Regions from separate parts of the Homo sapiens genome. Here region 2 is linked to region 1. The links are contacts of gene promoters, found by promoter capture Hi-C in blood cells and fetal thymus (Javierre and others, 2016). All regions are on one chromosome and are shown on one strand. The core of a region is centred on a gene start or on the middle of the fragment in contact, and the rest is flanking DNA. Distances in the headings are between cores, read along the strand shown.

Region 1 (6,622 bases), core at 474-2,973:
TCTCAAACTAAGACACCATAGAAGTGTAAGTTTTAAAAATATTAATACATTTAGTGTTATTAATTCCTGTCCCTGCACATATAACACAATGTTCTGTTATAAAGTTAAAAACAAATTAGAATCTTCCTAATTCAGTATGTTCTAAGAAATACTACTTGACAATAATCAATAAAATAAATTTGCAAAACTTGTCAATGATGTGTCCCATGTCAAATCAAATAAAGATAGCCTTTCTTGGATAGGTTGTTGGAAAATGGTTGTATCAACTGAATTTTTCATGTTTTACTTCAGATTTTCAATTTTAAGTTTTGTTTATAGATTTGATTAAAATAAAGGTTATTATGAATAGGTTATTAATAAAGGTTATAAAGTTCTGTGCCTATGATGTGTTATAAATGGTGTGTTCAGCTTTACTAGTTAATGCTGTTGTATTTGATGTCGCTTCAGTGACCTTTTTTGTTAGTTTATTGTTACTTAAAATTAAGCAAAATCTTTCTTGCATGAAATCTTCTTGATTAATTATTGCCATATAGAATTTTCATTCACCTAATCTTTTTTTTTTTTATTTGAGACAGAGTCTTGCTTTGTTGCCCAGGCTGAAGTGCAGTGGTGGCATCTCGGCTCACTGCAACACTGCAACGTCTGCCTCCTGGGTTTAAGAGATTCTCCTGCCTCAGGCTCTGGAGTAGCTGGGACTATAGGCGGGCACCACCACCCCCCGCTAATTTTTGTATTTTTAGTAGAGACGGGGTTTTACCATGTTGGCCAGGTTGGTCTCGAACTCCTGATCTCAAATGATCTGCCTGCCTCGGCCTCCCAAAGTGCTGGGATTACAGGCGTAAGCCACCGCGCCTGGTCTCATTCGCCTAATCTTTATTGTCTACTATATTCAAAGTGTTGAGTGTGACAACAAGTCATTTAAAATTTAGTCTGGATTCTCAAGAGTTTGTAATATAATGAGGAAAAAATCCCAACGACTTTCTTTTACTCAGATCTCCATAATGTCATTTGCCATCAATAGTTTGGAATATCACTGAAGTCCAAGGGCCTGTGGCTACCCAATATTCCAAATACAATATAATTTGGTTCAAATAAGATATTAAGAACTTTGGTCAAGAACTTTGGTCAAACACAGGAGATCTGGAATCTAACGGCATGTCTTTGGCAATTCACAACCTCTCCCTCTACACGTTTCTCCATGTAGAAAGTAAAGGCCTTGGAAAGGATTGATGAAAACCAACCCTAAAACTCCACGATGCCTTTTTCTGTACTCCGAATCTAAAAGGGTGAGCTATGAAGTAAAACTCTGCACTTGGTCCAAGTCATTGAAATATTTGCAAACGATGCTAGAGCTCGAAAAGAGCAAAGATAGCAGAAACCGTCCAGAGAAAGTAACCTACTGCTGAAGCTCTGCAAACTTGAGCAGTCAACCAACTTCACCGCTCACAAACGTTTGGCCGCTAGGCATTGTGACTTTCTGCCCAGATAAAAGTCTTTTTTTCTTTTGTCTCCTTTTTTTCTTCCTCCCTGCTTTGCCGCGTGAGATTACCACTCCTCGGGTCAGCTCGCGAACGCCAGGGAGGCGAGTGTGAAACACACGCGCCAACACCCCTCCTCCTCCTCGTGCGCTCCTCCTTCCTACAGAAAAATGTGTTTCTAGGCAACGGCGGGCGGCGGCGTCACTTCCTGCCATTTAAACTCAGGTCCCCACCCCTCGCAGCCCCTTCTCCTCGTTTCCACCCCTCCCCCCTCGGTCGTGGGCCTCATTCACGCTTCCCCGGGCTTGGGGAGGGGGCGGAGGCCCGGCGTGACAAGCGGCCCAGACTCCCGTGGGCGCCGCACACCTGTTGTTTGCAGCAGCCAGCGACCCGCACTACCGCTCTCGGCGGGCGGGGAAGCGGCCGCAGCGGAGCCGACCCGGCAGGTGGCCGCGGGCGGGGCCGGCGAGCGAAAGTGCGCGGGGGCCCGACCACCGCGGGGCCGGGACGCGATGGCGGCGGCAGAGCCCGCGAGCTCGGGCCAGCAGGCGCCGGCAGGGCAGGGGCAGGGCCAGCGGCCGCCGCCGCAGCCTCCGCAGGCGCAAGCCCCGCAGCCGCCCCCGCCGCCGCAGCTCGGGGGCGCCGGGGGCGGCAGCAGCAGGCACGAGAAGAGCCTGGGGCTGCTCACTACCAAGTTCGTGTCGCTGCTGCAGGAGGCCAAGGACGGCGTTCTGGATCTCAAAGCGGTGAGCTCCGGAGGCGGGGACGGGGGCGGACTTCGGAACCCGTGGCCCCCGGGGAAGCCCAGCCCCTCGCCGCGTGGGTCTAGCGGCGTGGTGTAGACGCGCCTTGCGGGGACCCGGGACCGGGCAATCCGAGGACCATGTGGCCTGCGCCCGGGTCGTGGACGCCGGGATGGGGGAGGGACGAGGGACCAGGATGGCACCGAGCGGACGCGTAACCAATGGGGCCCGGCGCCACGCTGGGCTCTCGACAAAGAGCCCAGGACCTCGAGCGCGCCCGCGTGGCTTCTGTCTCCGGGCGCAGGGACCTGAGGGTAACCGAGTGTCTGTTGCTCTGCGTCCACCTGTGGCAGAGGCTCACGGGGTAACGGGCGCTTTGCCCGGAGACACCGTGGATATCGATTTTGCTGTTAAGAATGGATGGTTTTAATAGGCGATTCCAGTTGGAACCATGTTCCTGTAGTTTAAATAAAAAGGAGGAAAAACAAAACCCAGTCTGCCATCTCTACCAGATGAAAGAAAAAAAAAAAAGAGTACTTCTTTCCACGCCCCTCCCCGATAAAATAGTATTAAATCTTCCTTGTGCACTTCTTTCATCACCCTGATAGTTAGGAGGGGTATTTGATTTGTGACTTCATTTGGCATGTGTCATGGGTTTCCAAAAGTGAGATCTGCTGTCACACGAAAAGGGGATATTTTACAACTTTCACCCAAAGAGGTGGAAGTGCTCAGTAAACTCTCTCCCTGCGTCGTCCTTTACAGCGTTCAGATTTTTCAAACAGGAGCAGGCATCAAAAGCTGTTCTGTCATACAGAATGACTTAACCGATCTAGGAAGGATTTGGAAGAATTCAACAGCGCTCAGGATAATGAGAATGTGGTCACTCCGCGCGAAGTTTAAGAACTAAAGTTTTAGAAACAAACAAACAAAAAACACTAACTGCCCAATAATCACTGCAAATCCCCTTTGACTCCCTAAATGTGGCCTTACTTGGAGGATTGGCCCCAGCTCCCAGGGGAGTGCCTGGACCACCTTACCTGGCTTGAGAGTGTCACTGCATCCTCAAGGCTCTGCATAAAGCAGTGGCAGCTCCCTGAATGTAAGGACCAAGACTTGCAGGGGCCAACTCTTCTGCTAGAGGCCCTCCTCCAGTGTAGCCCAAGGGGAAGTAGATCTTTTCAGTGCCCTCTCCTTTCCCTGGATGTAGTTGGTGTTCAATCAGTGATTGTTGAACTGAATTACCTAAATTGTTCAACTTCATACAACTGAGGCATGCTGCACATATTTTGCATTTTGGTAAGTAATTTCTACTATTTTCTTTTTGATATGTTATTCCTGGAATTTTTTTCCCACCTCTGGAAATTCCTTGTTCTCTTTTTTCCACCACAGCCCCTTCTTCCTTTCTCTCCCTGAAAGTGATTTATGGCATGTGTAGTATTTAAATTGTAGTGAATTAAAATGGATTCTGTTTAAAGAATTTCACAGGAAGTCATGAAGTTATCAGAGAAAGCCAGGAATGTTACAAAGCACAGGTGGCAAACTGCTGTTCAAAATCTAGAAATTCAGCTGTAGCCTGTGACTTTGGTGTAAGAAAATCAGGGAAGTTTGGGGTTTTCCAGGTAAAACTGAACTCTGACGGCTGGACTTTGAGGGCTTCTCCCTCAGCTTGCCTCAGGATATGGTGGAACTTTGCCCTTTCTTGACTTGAAATTCTTTAGCTTCCTCCTGTTTCATCTGTGGCTATATAATTGCCCTACAGAAGTCACAGAGGCAGTGAGTAGGATGTAAAGTTTGGTATTTCATGACAATAATTGCTTTATTCATTCTGGAACTCTCCTAAAAATTCAAAGGTTTCTACAATAACACTGTCTCATTATATTAATGACTTCATACTCCTAGAAAAGAGTTTGAATGTCTTTAGTTTTCATATATATGTATGAAAAACATATGTTTTATGTATTTTACGTATATTTTTCATTTATTTATATATACTTATATATGTAAAAATCTTTTTTTTTTCTTTTTTGAGACGGAGTCTTGCTCTGTCGCCCAGGCTGGAGTGCAGTGGCGCGATCTGGGCTCACTGCAAGCTCCGCCTCCCGGGTTCACGCCATTCTCCTGTGTCAGCCTCCCGAGTAGCTCGGACTACAGGCGCCCGCCAGCGCACCCAGCTAATTTTTTTGTAATTTTAGTAGAGACAGGGTTTCACTGTGTTAGCTAGGATGGTCTCGATCTCCTGACCTTGTGATCCACGCGCCTCGGCCTCCCAAAGTGCTGGGATTACAGGCGTGAGCCACCGCGCCCGGCCAAAAATCTTACATTGAAATCTTTCCAATGATATTTCTTATTATACACCATAGTAAAAGATCGTTAAAGCCTTTTTTTTTTGAGACTGAGTCTTGCTCTGTCACCCAGGCTGGAGTGCAGTGGCAGATCTCTGCTCACTGCAACCTCCACCTCCCGGGTTCAAGCGATTCTCCTGCCTCAGCCTCCCAAGTAGCTGGGATTACAGGTGCCCGCCACCATGCCCGACTCATTTTTGTATGTTTAGTAGAGAAGGGGTTTCACCATGTTGGCCAGGCTGGTCTCGAACTCCCAACCTCAAATGATCTGCTTGCCTCAGCCTCCCAGAGTGCTGGGATTACAGGCGTGAGCCACCATACCCAGCCCATTAAGACATGTTTGATAATACATATTAAAGATGGACTCACACTGACAATTATAAATTTCCTCTAATTTGAAATTATAAAGACACATTTTCTCTTGTATTCTTACTTTGGTGGGGGCATATTTCAGCATAATTTTTTTGAAACTTTTAAGTTATACACTTGACTTTTAAACGCAGTTAAAGAAACTATACATATATATATATATATATATATATATATATATATATATATATATGGTTTTTTGGTTGGTCTTGTTTTTTTTTTTTTTTTTTTTTGAGACAGAGTCTCGCTCTGTGGCCCAGGCGGGAGTGCAGTGGCGCAATCTCGGCTCACTGCAAGCTCCGCCTCCCGGGTTCATGCCATTCTCCTGCCTCAGCCTCCCGAGTAGCTGGGACTACAGGCACCCGCCATCACGCCCGGCTAATTTTTTTTGTATTTTTAGTAGAGACGGGGTTTCACCATGTTAGCCAGGATGGTCTCGATCTTCTGACCTCGTGATCCGCCCGCCTCGGCCTCCCAAAGTGCTGGGATTACAAGCGTGAGCCACCGCGCCCGGCCGGTCTTGTTTGTTTTTTGAGACAGGGTCTTATTCTGTCGCCCAGGCTGGAGTGCAGTGGTACAATCTCAGCTCATTGTAACCTCCACTTCCCGGGCTCAAGTGATTCTCCTGCCTCAGCCTACCAAGTAGCTGGCACTACAGGCGTACACCATTATGCCTGGCTTATTTTTATATTTTTAGTAGAGACAGGGTTTTGCCATATTGCCCAGGCTGGTCTCGAACTCCTGAGCTCAAAGCTATCTGCCTACCTTGGTCTCCCCTGTGAGCCACCGCTTCCGGCCTTGAAGAAACAGTTTTTGAATATCCCAAAGAATAAAAAAGTATATCAAACTTCAAGTAAAATATCCAAATATTTTGGATATCATAAAGTATCCTAGACCACATAGATGCTATTTCTTTTCTATCTTATGCTGCTGGAGAATAAGAACGTAAGGTTGTATCTTAGTGACACATTTCTTCTTTTTTTTTGAGACGGGAGTCTCACTCTGTCACCCAAGCTGGAGTGCAGTGTCGCGATCTCCACTCGCTGCAAGCTCCGCCTCCTGGGTTCACGCCATTCTCCTGCCTCAGGCTCCTGAGTAGCTGGGACTACAGGCGCCCGCCACCACGCCCGGCTAGTTTTGTTTTTTTTTTTTTTGTATTTTTAGTAGAGGTGGGGTTTCACCGTGTTAGAATGGTCTCGATCTTCTGACCTCGTGATCCTCCCACCTCGGCCTCCCAAAGTGCTGGGATTACAGGCGTGAGCCACCGCGCCTGGCCATTTCTTCTTAATAATATAACTAATTGAAAACATGGCTCGGTCAGGCGTGGTGGCTCACGCCTGTAATCCCAGCACTTTGAGAGGCCGAGGCGGGCAGATCACCTGAGGTCAGGAGTTCGAGACCAGCCTGCCCAACATGGCGAAACCCCGTCTCTACTAAAAATACAAAAAAATTAGCCAGGCGTCGTGGAGGCGCCTGTAATCCCAGCTACTTGGCAGGCTGAAGCAGGAGAATCGCTTGAACTCAAGAGGCGGAGGTTGCAGTGAGCCGAGATCGCACCACTGCACTCCATCCTGGGCGACAAGAGCGAAACTGTGTCTCAAAAAAAAAAAACATGGCTCAACATAGAAAATCAATTTTAATAAAGCTGTTGTAGTATAACTTAACAATTAGGAAGCAATAGAAAGACATT
Region 2 (7,450 bases), core at 2,095-4,594, 120 kb after region 1:
TCATTATATGCATTTATTACCTTTAAATGAATTAATAAAGAAATACTTTAAATCTTCTGTTTAAATTTCCAATTCAGTAAATATCAACAGATATAATCCACATAAACAAAAGCTCTTTGAGATCTTCAGTAACTCTTAAGAGTGAAAAGGGTCCTGAGACCAGAAGGATTAAGAACTACTCCTGTGGCCAGTCACCGTGGCTCACGCCTTTAATCCCAGCACTTTGAGAGGCCAAGGCAGGTGGATCACTTGAGGTCAAGAGTTCGAGACCAGTCTGGCTAACATGGTGAAACCCCATCTCTACTAAAAATACAACAACAACAAAAATTAGCTGGGTGTGGTGGTACGTGCCTGTAATCCCAGCTACTTTTGAGGCTGAGATAGGATAATCGCTTGAACCTGGGAGCCAGAGGTTGCAGTGAGCCAAGATTGCGCCACTGCATTCCAGCCTGGGCGACAGAGCAAGACTCCATCTCAAAAAAAAAAAAAAAAAAAAAAGCACTCCTGTAAAGCAAGCCCCATGATTCAGTGTCCTACCACTTGTTCGTCCCAGCACTCCTTTCTTCTAAAGTAGTGATCAATTCTACTGAGCAAAGTGGCATATGCTGTAATAAAACCATATACACCTACACAAATATATTACCTAGATACCAAAAGGTAATAGTATTCACACTGTCTCACACTATTAGACACAGCACTCGTCACTCTATTCCAGGCACTCTAGGTTCCCTCTTCCTTTATGGCCTTTCCTCACTTTTACTGTTATCTCTTCCTTGCCACTTTACTTCCTCCCATCAAGTCCAAGGCCAAGGGATCTGTGTTAATTCCTGTTTAGATGCTAAAGGGACAATATAATTTTCATTGTGTTTGAGTTAATTCCTTGAATTCAAGTCTCAACAATTTACTGTATAGTCTCTTAAGGCCCTGGCCAAGCAGTTCCCTGGGTTCTATCCACAAAAATTCCCTATCTAGTTTTGTTCCTAGCAAACTGCCACCCCTCCTGTTCTAAGCATTCGGTTTTGAAAACCTGTCCCTAGTGCCTTCTATTTTCTTGTGTATTTCTGAATGATTCTGACCATGAACTTCAAGTTTCTTTGCCACGCTCTTTCCCAGTCTCAACTTTTACACGTATTGGCCTCCCACTTCTTCTCATGCCTTCTCTTCTACCTGTAGGCATTTACATTTCCAAGGCCCTACCTTGCAGTTCTTCCCTCTTCTCTTGGAAAAGAGCAGTAATCTATCTTGACAGATTTGTTACACTTTAGGTTGTTTTTGTTTGTTTGTTTGTTTTTGCTGGATTATAGCACTGCAATAGGCATATGTGGCCAGGAGTAGACCAGATGGCTATTTCCCTAGGGAGTCTCAGGAGTTTGATGAAGTCCTCTAGGTATAGAGTCAAACTCTCAGCTCTGCAAAATCAGAAACATAATTTGTCAGCACGATGTCCCTTTCTCATGGGCAGACTTACCATAAGTGAGTTCACAAGTCTGAAATATAAGTTAAAAAGTCAAGTTATTAATTTATAATGAGTGATATGAGTCTTACATTAGCTGGAACACTAATCAAACATGAACGTTCATTCAAAGAATATTTCTTGAGCACCACTAGGAAGTCCACTCTATACAGGAAACCAAATTATATAAGATGTTTACTTGGTGAGTATGGATCTCAGAAAAATACGACAAATAGGAGAAAGAAATTGTCTGAAACATCCGACTCGTCTAAAGAATCATTTTCAAAGTGGGACATAATAATAGAATTTTGTTGGCTGTACTTCCCAGCATTTTCTTCAAAATATGTATAGTTTTGCCAAAAGGACTAAAATACTTGGCCTGTTGACTAATGTTTTCTTAAACACTGGAATATATTTGGATAAACTAGCAATATGTGCTTCTGTGGTTTTCAGTTTTCTATTCTGTGATAAATCCACCATTTCCCTAGTTGGCACTTCCTTATATTGGACATGTTAACACATGCACTCAAGTAAGATTTTCAAATCTGAAGCCACTCTGCCCTTTAAGGAGTGTGTTTATATTTTGGTTCTTATTCATAAGGTATATATTGCAAAGTCCAACTCTGAGAGAGCAAACATGTAATATAAAATTTTAAGCTCATTTTACTTATTCTCAAGTTCTTGTGGGAAAGTCTCAGTATAGCCCCCAAGGACTACACAATGATATTTGTTTTTTTGTATGTGTGTGTGACGGAGTCTCGTTCTGTCACCCAGGCTGGAGTGCAGTGGCGCGATCTCGGCTCACTGCAAGCTCTGCCTCCCAGGTTCAGGCCATTCTCCTGCCTCAGCCTCCTGAGTAGCTGGGACTATAGGTGCCCACCACCACGCCTGGCTAATTTTTTTGTATTTTTAGTAGAGACAGGGTTTCACCATGTTAGCCAGGAAGGTCTCGATCTCCTGACCTCGTGATCTGCCCACCTCGGCCTCCCAAAGTGCTGGGATTACAGGCATGAGCCACCGCACCCAGCCACAATGATATTGTTTAAAACTACTTATTGAATATATAAAAAGAAAACAAAGTGTTGTAATTAAAGATGATGAGACAGCATAGCCCCCAAAACTCAATATAATCTGTTTATTTCATCTGGTTTTATTTTCATAGGAATTTTCTTCTAGGAAACCTGTGTTAGCATTTGATACAGGTAGATGCAGTGTTTTCTCAACCAGCTAGGATGAAAAGCAAGAAGAGAAATACAGGGATGCAGACAGAAGGCACTGACTGAGATAAATATAAGTAAGACTAATCATAGTTTTGTGACTAAGTAGAGGTTTTACAGGTATAATGACTTTTAAAGACAATTTTCAGGGTTATTGTATAATAAAAATCTTTGGGATCCATGAAACTCCGGCAGCCCTGGTCCCAAGGGGCCACCCAAATGTTGTGTATCTAGCAGTGCCTCTTTCTCTTGGCATAAAGACTATGCTGTGCTGGGTTATTCCATCTGTCACTCAGACATCCTGAGATCAAATAAAACAACAATTCCTACACCCTCATCTATTTCCTTCTCTTATTTCCTGTATAGTGGATATACTTTCTGTGTTTTTCCTCTTAGAAATTGGAGCCTGGATAAATACAAGCTTGAAATCCTCCTTCCCCAAATAATGAAAGGTTCTGTTGTGCTTTGCAGCCATCCAGAAGCATGCTTTCAGCTGAGCTTGCTCACTCATCACAAGAATTTGAAATTTCAGCTCCAAATATTCTTTTATGTAAATGACTTTATTAAGAAAAAGCAAATCCAAATCTGGCTTCTCAACCAAGAAGAATAAGAGAGCTCTGTTTGTTTTATTTGTTATGAGAACACACTTCATTTGTATTCAAGCAAAGACTTTTTGTCATATATAATGAAAGTGTATGCTTGTTAAAAATCAGTAAGATTGAAAAGGCTAGGAGGACATATTCCATTTTAACCTTTTTTTAAGATAAAGATCTCAGCTATATCTATTTCAGTATGCTTGAATGAGTCTCTGTAGACAGTTCATATTTCTTGTGAATGTGTCAGCTTATCATTAGGTCAGGTAGCATCTTTCAAATGACTTGGTGAAACTTAATTACATACTCTTGTTCTGTAATAATTTCATGTAGGTAAGCTTACATATGAAACACTTTGTAACTAAGTTGTAAATCAAAACCAAAATTTATCTATGCTTTTTCACCCTTGCCCACTTCCATTCCTCTTCAGTGCTTGACAGGGAATCAGAGAAATAGTGAATGCCTAATCCTGAATTTAATTATTTACCAGACATGGGTATATGTCGTGTTTCTGTCTCTTCACTTGCCTTCTGAGGTGAATGTCCTGGTTTCCTCCCTCCTCACCAGCTGTCCCTTTCTGGTCTGTTCTCTCTCTGCTTCACTTACTTCCTGGGTAATTTTTTTTTCTAGCCCCATGACTTTAAATGACATTTAAAAACATGGTTGATGTATACATATATATATACACGTGTGTGTGTGTGTATATATATATCATATATATGTGTATATATATATTCAGATGTATATACTATATATCATATATATGTATATATATTCAAATATATATACTATATATATGTGTGTGTGTATATCAGCATATATCAGATATATATATCCATTCCCAATCTTTCCCCTGAACTTGGAACTCATATACCCAACTGCCTATAAGACTGCTCCATGGAATGTCTGACAGACATGTCAACATTAGCATGTCCAGATCCCTCAATTCTGCTTCCCATCCCCTTGTTGTGCCTGCAACCTTCCCTTCCCAAGGATGCTCCATCTCAGTAAATGGCACCACTAGCTACACAAAACTCACAGTCATCTCTGTACTCTCTTTCGCTCACACCCAGATTGAATCTGCTAGCAAGTCCTGTGGATGCTAGTCTTAAAATATGGCTCTCAGCTGGTCTCTCTGCTCCACTCTTTACCCCCTACATTGTTCACACAGCGGCCAGGGTGATTCTTTGAAAAAGCAGGTCAGAGTGCTTCACTCCATTTGAGCTCCACACTGCAGTGACTTCCTATGACTCAGAACAAAATCTGCTGTGCCTATGATGGCATATAGAGTACTCTGTGATCTGTGCTCTTGTGGCTCCTGCCCCCCTTCTCTCCTGCTGTCCCATCCACCACTCTTCAGTCTTGACACCCTCGTTTTTCCTCTGCCAGGCCTTTTCAAGTCTTTACAGTGGATATTCTCTTTGCCTGCAATGCTCTTCCTCAGATACTCATATGAATCACTTCCTCATTCATTCAAATGTCACCTCTTCAAAGAGGCCTTCCCTGACCACACTTTCTAAGTAGCAGCCCTGTTACTTTCTTTCCCCTTACTCTGATTTATTATTTTTCATGTCATTTACAACATCATTAACATAATATTATTTATTTTTAAACATCAGTCTGTCTTACAAGAATGTAACCTCCTTAAGGAAGTGTTTTTCATTTTGTTAATCAAGAGTTTTTAGCACCTAAACCATGTTTGACTCATGATAGACATCAATAGGTGTTTATTTAATTAACCAATGCATATTTTTTCATGCACATTTGAACTAACGTATACATTGACAATATAATCCTTAATTTTCTGGATAAGTTGTGTGCATCTATAGAAGACTGGGTGTAAATCTACAATTATATGTCAGCTTTTATGTTATATTGAGTTCATGGGTGTTCCTTAAAAAATGCTTAAAAGATATTGCAGTTTTTAAGACGTTAATGCACCTATGCACATGCATATATTCACAAACTGTTTTCAGTAGTACTTTGAAATCCTCCTAAAAGTTTTCATGCAATGTTCAACAATATAAATCTTACTTTCAAGTAGCTGATTCATAGTGAAGATCGTTACTCACAATATGATAGATGCCATATTTCCCAGTACTCAGGTAGTCTCTTCATTACGGGCACCTTGTCTTCCAGAACAACACGCTAGGGTGAGAAACAGAGAAAGGGAGTGAGGGAGAGGATGGAGAGAATAAAATAAAATGTTCTTGCAGTAACTGGTCAGTACTTGAAAGGGAGAATATGCAGTAAAGGAGAAGGAGTATTTAACAGGAATTAAAGAAGCCTTAAGAGAAAACAATTATGTGAGCATTCATCTCCCTAAAAAAGGAAAAAGGAAGGTGCAGAGACAGCAGTGACTTGTTCCTCATCTTAACCACCAGGTGGTGGTGTCGCATCAGAAAGGCTGATTTGCACTACCTGGTAGCGGATGAGGCAATGAGGCACCATGACCATTACTTTACTCCCACCTGCTAGTGCAAGATTTCAGCCTCTTCCGAAGTCTCCCTCTCCTAACTATTTCTAAATATTCCCAAAGAGTGTCTCATTTGTGGTAATGAGTGAGTCAAGTCAGTTTGCACTTGGTGTCTCATAATTTCTTCTCTTTTGTCCTCACCTCCCTCTCTCCTCCTCCTACCTTCCAGGTGCATCACTTGGCCACCATTCCCTGTGGGAGCAGCTCTGCCACCTGCTCTGGGCATTGTTAATCCTCTGGGTCCCAAACTGAATCCACTGGGCCTTGCTTTTGCTGCTGCTAGGGAAGAGAAGGCAGAGAAGTATTCATTAACAGTAAACATTAGTTGTGCTCAGCCCTCTGCAGTCTACCTCTGCTAGGCATAAAATAAGGAGAAGTGGCCTCGGGTGAAAGCAGGTTTGGATTAAAATTTCCTAATGCCAAGGCTGCTTGAACGTTGGATTACTCTTCACCTATACTTCTATAAATGTGTAATCTTGTTATAAGTTTTCCACAAGTGGCATAGAGTCTCTTCTGTGAACACTGTTCTTCTGTGCAGGTGGGATGGACTAGATCAAGGGTCTTCAGCAGTTTTGATCAGCCAGTGGATTTCAAAGACCCATTAATTAAAAGCTTTTTAATCAAAAGCTTTCTTACAAAGGGCCCCTGTGTTAATCTTACCTCCCTGACCTTCTCTTTGGCACGCTCCATTCTTGTCGAGATTCCCAGTGAGGTTGGGATTCTTTGAAGGTTAGCTGGTGTTCTTTCTTCATTCCTTATTCAACTCCAGGTTTTCTGCTGGGTCAAGACCACATCCCTGCCTTCAGGCCTCAAAGATTTCATTAAAAGCAATCTACAACCTTGCCCAGTCTAGCTTTTTCCCCTGTGGTACCTTATCTACCCAGTCATCCATACACAAGACTCCATTCTTCAGAGGATATTCCTAGCGTTAGAGAAAGTAAAACACTTATTTTGTTCGTGAAAAGTTATGGGAATGTGATTAGAATTTTCTAGACTTGAGTTTCTAGAGAACTCAGATTATTGCTTTTTCATATAAGAAAACATTTGGATACACCTTTGGGATTGCTGGCCCTACCCACCCACAACTGAATCACCTATGGCCCAATATGAGCATGACTTTCCGCATATTTTTAGATTTAGATTAGGGGCAGTGGCCATGAGAGAAGTACTAATTCTCACCTGAAGGACAGAGGATAAAGTGCGATGGCTTGTTAAAATGGAAAAGTTTCTTCTTTTCCTTTCCTTTTTTTTGTAAGATCTTGCTCTGTCACCCAGGCTGGAGTGCAGTGGCACAATCTTGGCTCATTGCAGCCTTGACCTGCTGGGCTCAAGTGATCCTCCCACATCAGTCTCCTGAGCAGCTGGGACCACAGGTGCCCACCACTACACTAGACTAATAGTTTTTTGAAGTGACAGGGTTTTGCCATGTTGCCCAGGCTGGAGGGCAAGTTTCTTAACATCTCCAGGTCTTGCTTATCTAATTCATAAAAATGAGAATAATAATAGTATCCATATAATAAATTTGTTGTGCATCTTATACAGGATGAGGCACCTAAAGGAATTATCGCAGTGCCTGGCACACTCAATAAATGTTAGCTGCTATTGTTTGAATGTGCACAATCTATCAACAGGGGAGATATAAGTAAGAACAATCTAGTAGTTCCAGATTCCTTTTTTCAGTCCAGACACTAGGTGTCACTGCTGATGTTTA

What was found. The method cuts DNA at HindIII sites, captures the fragments that hold promoters and counts their contacts. A CHiCAGO score of 5 or more calls a contact.
Region 2: a fragment that was not itself captured here is called in contact with the fragment with the promoter of E2F5 in region 1 in 3 of 17 cell types (naive B cells, total B cells and fetal thymus); the score reaches 8.0 in naive B cells.

The regions. Positions count from the first base shown.
Region 1 is chr8:85,175,431-85,182,052 of GRCh38, forward strand. E2F5 (E2F transcription factor 5) reads left to right here and starts at 1,724. Exons shown (of 8, transcript NM_001951.4): 1 at 1,724-2,224. The coding sequence starts at 1,991. It overlaps E2F5-DT (E2F5 divergent transcript), which reads right to left and starts at 1,611. Exons shown (of 3, transcript NR_134311.1): 1 at 1,401-1,611. RefSeq lists an enhancer at 1,385-1,554 and silencers at 1,655-2,184, 2,195-2,584. The HindIII fragment of the contact is 15,711 bases long and covers 1-6,622 here.
Region 2 is chr8:85,291,925-85,299,374 of GRCh38, forward strand. No RefSeq gene overlaps it. Among named protein-coding and RNA genes, the nearest start is that of CA13, 50 kb to the left of the region's middle. The HindIII fragment of the contact is 510 bases long and covers 3,090-3,599 here.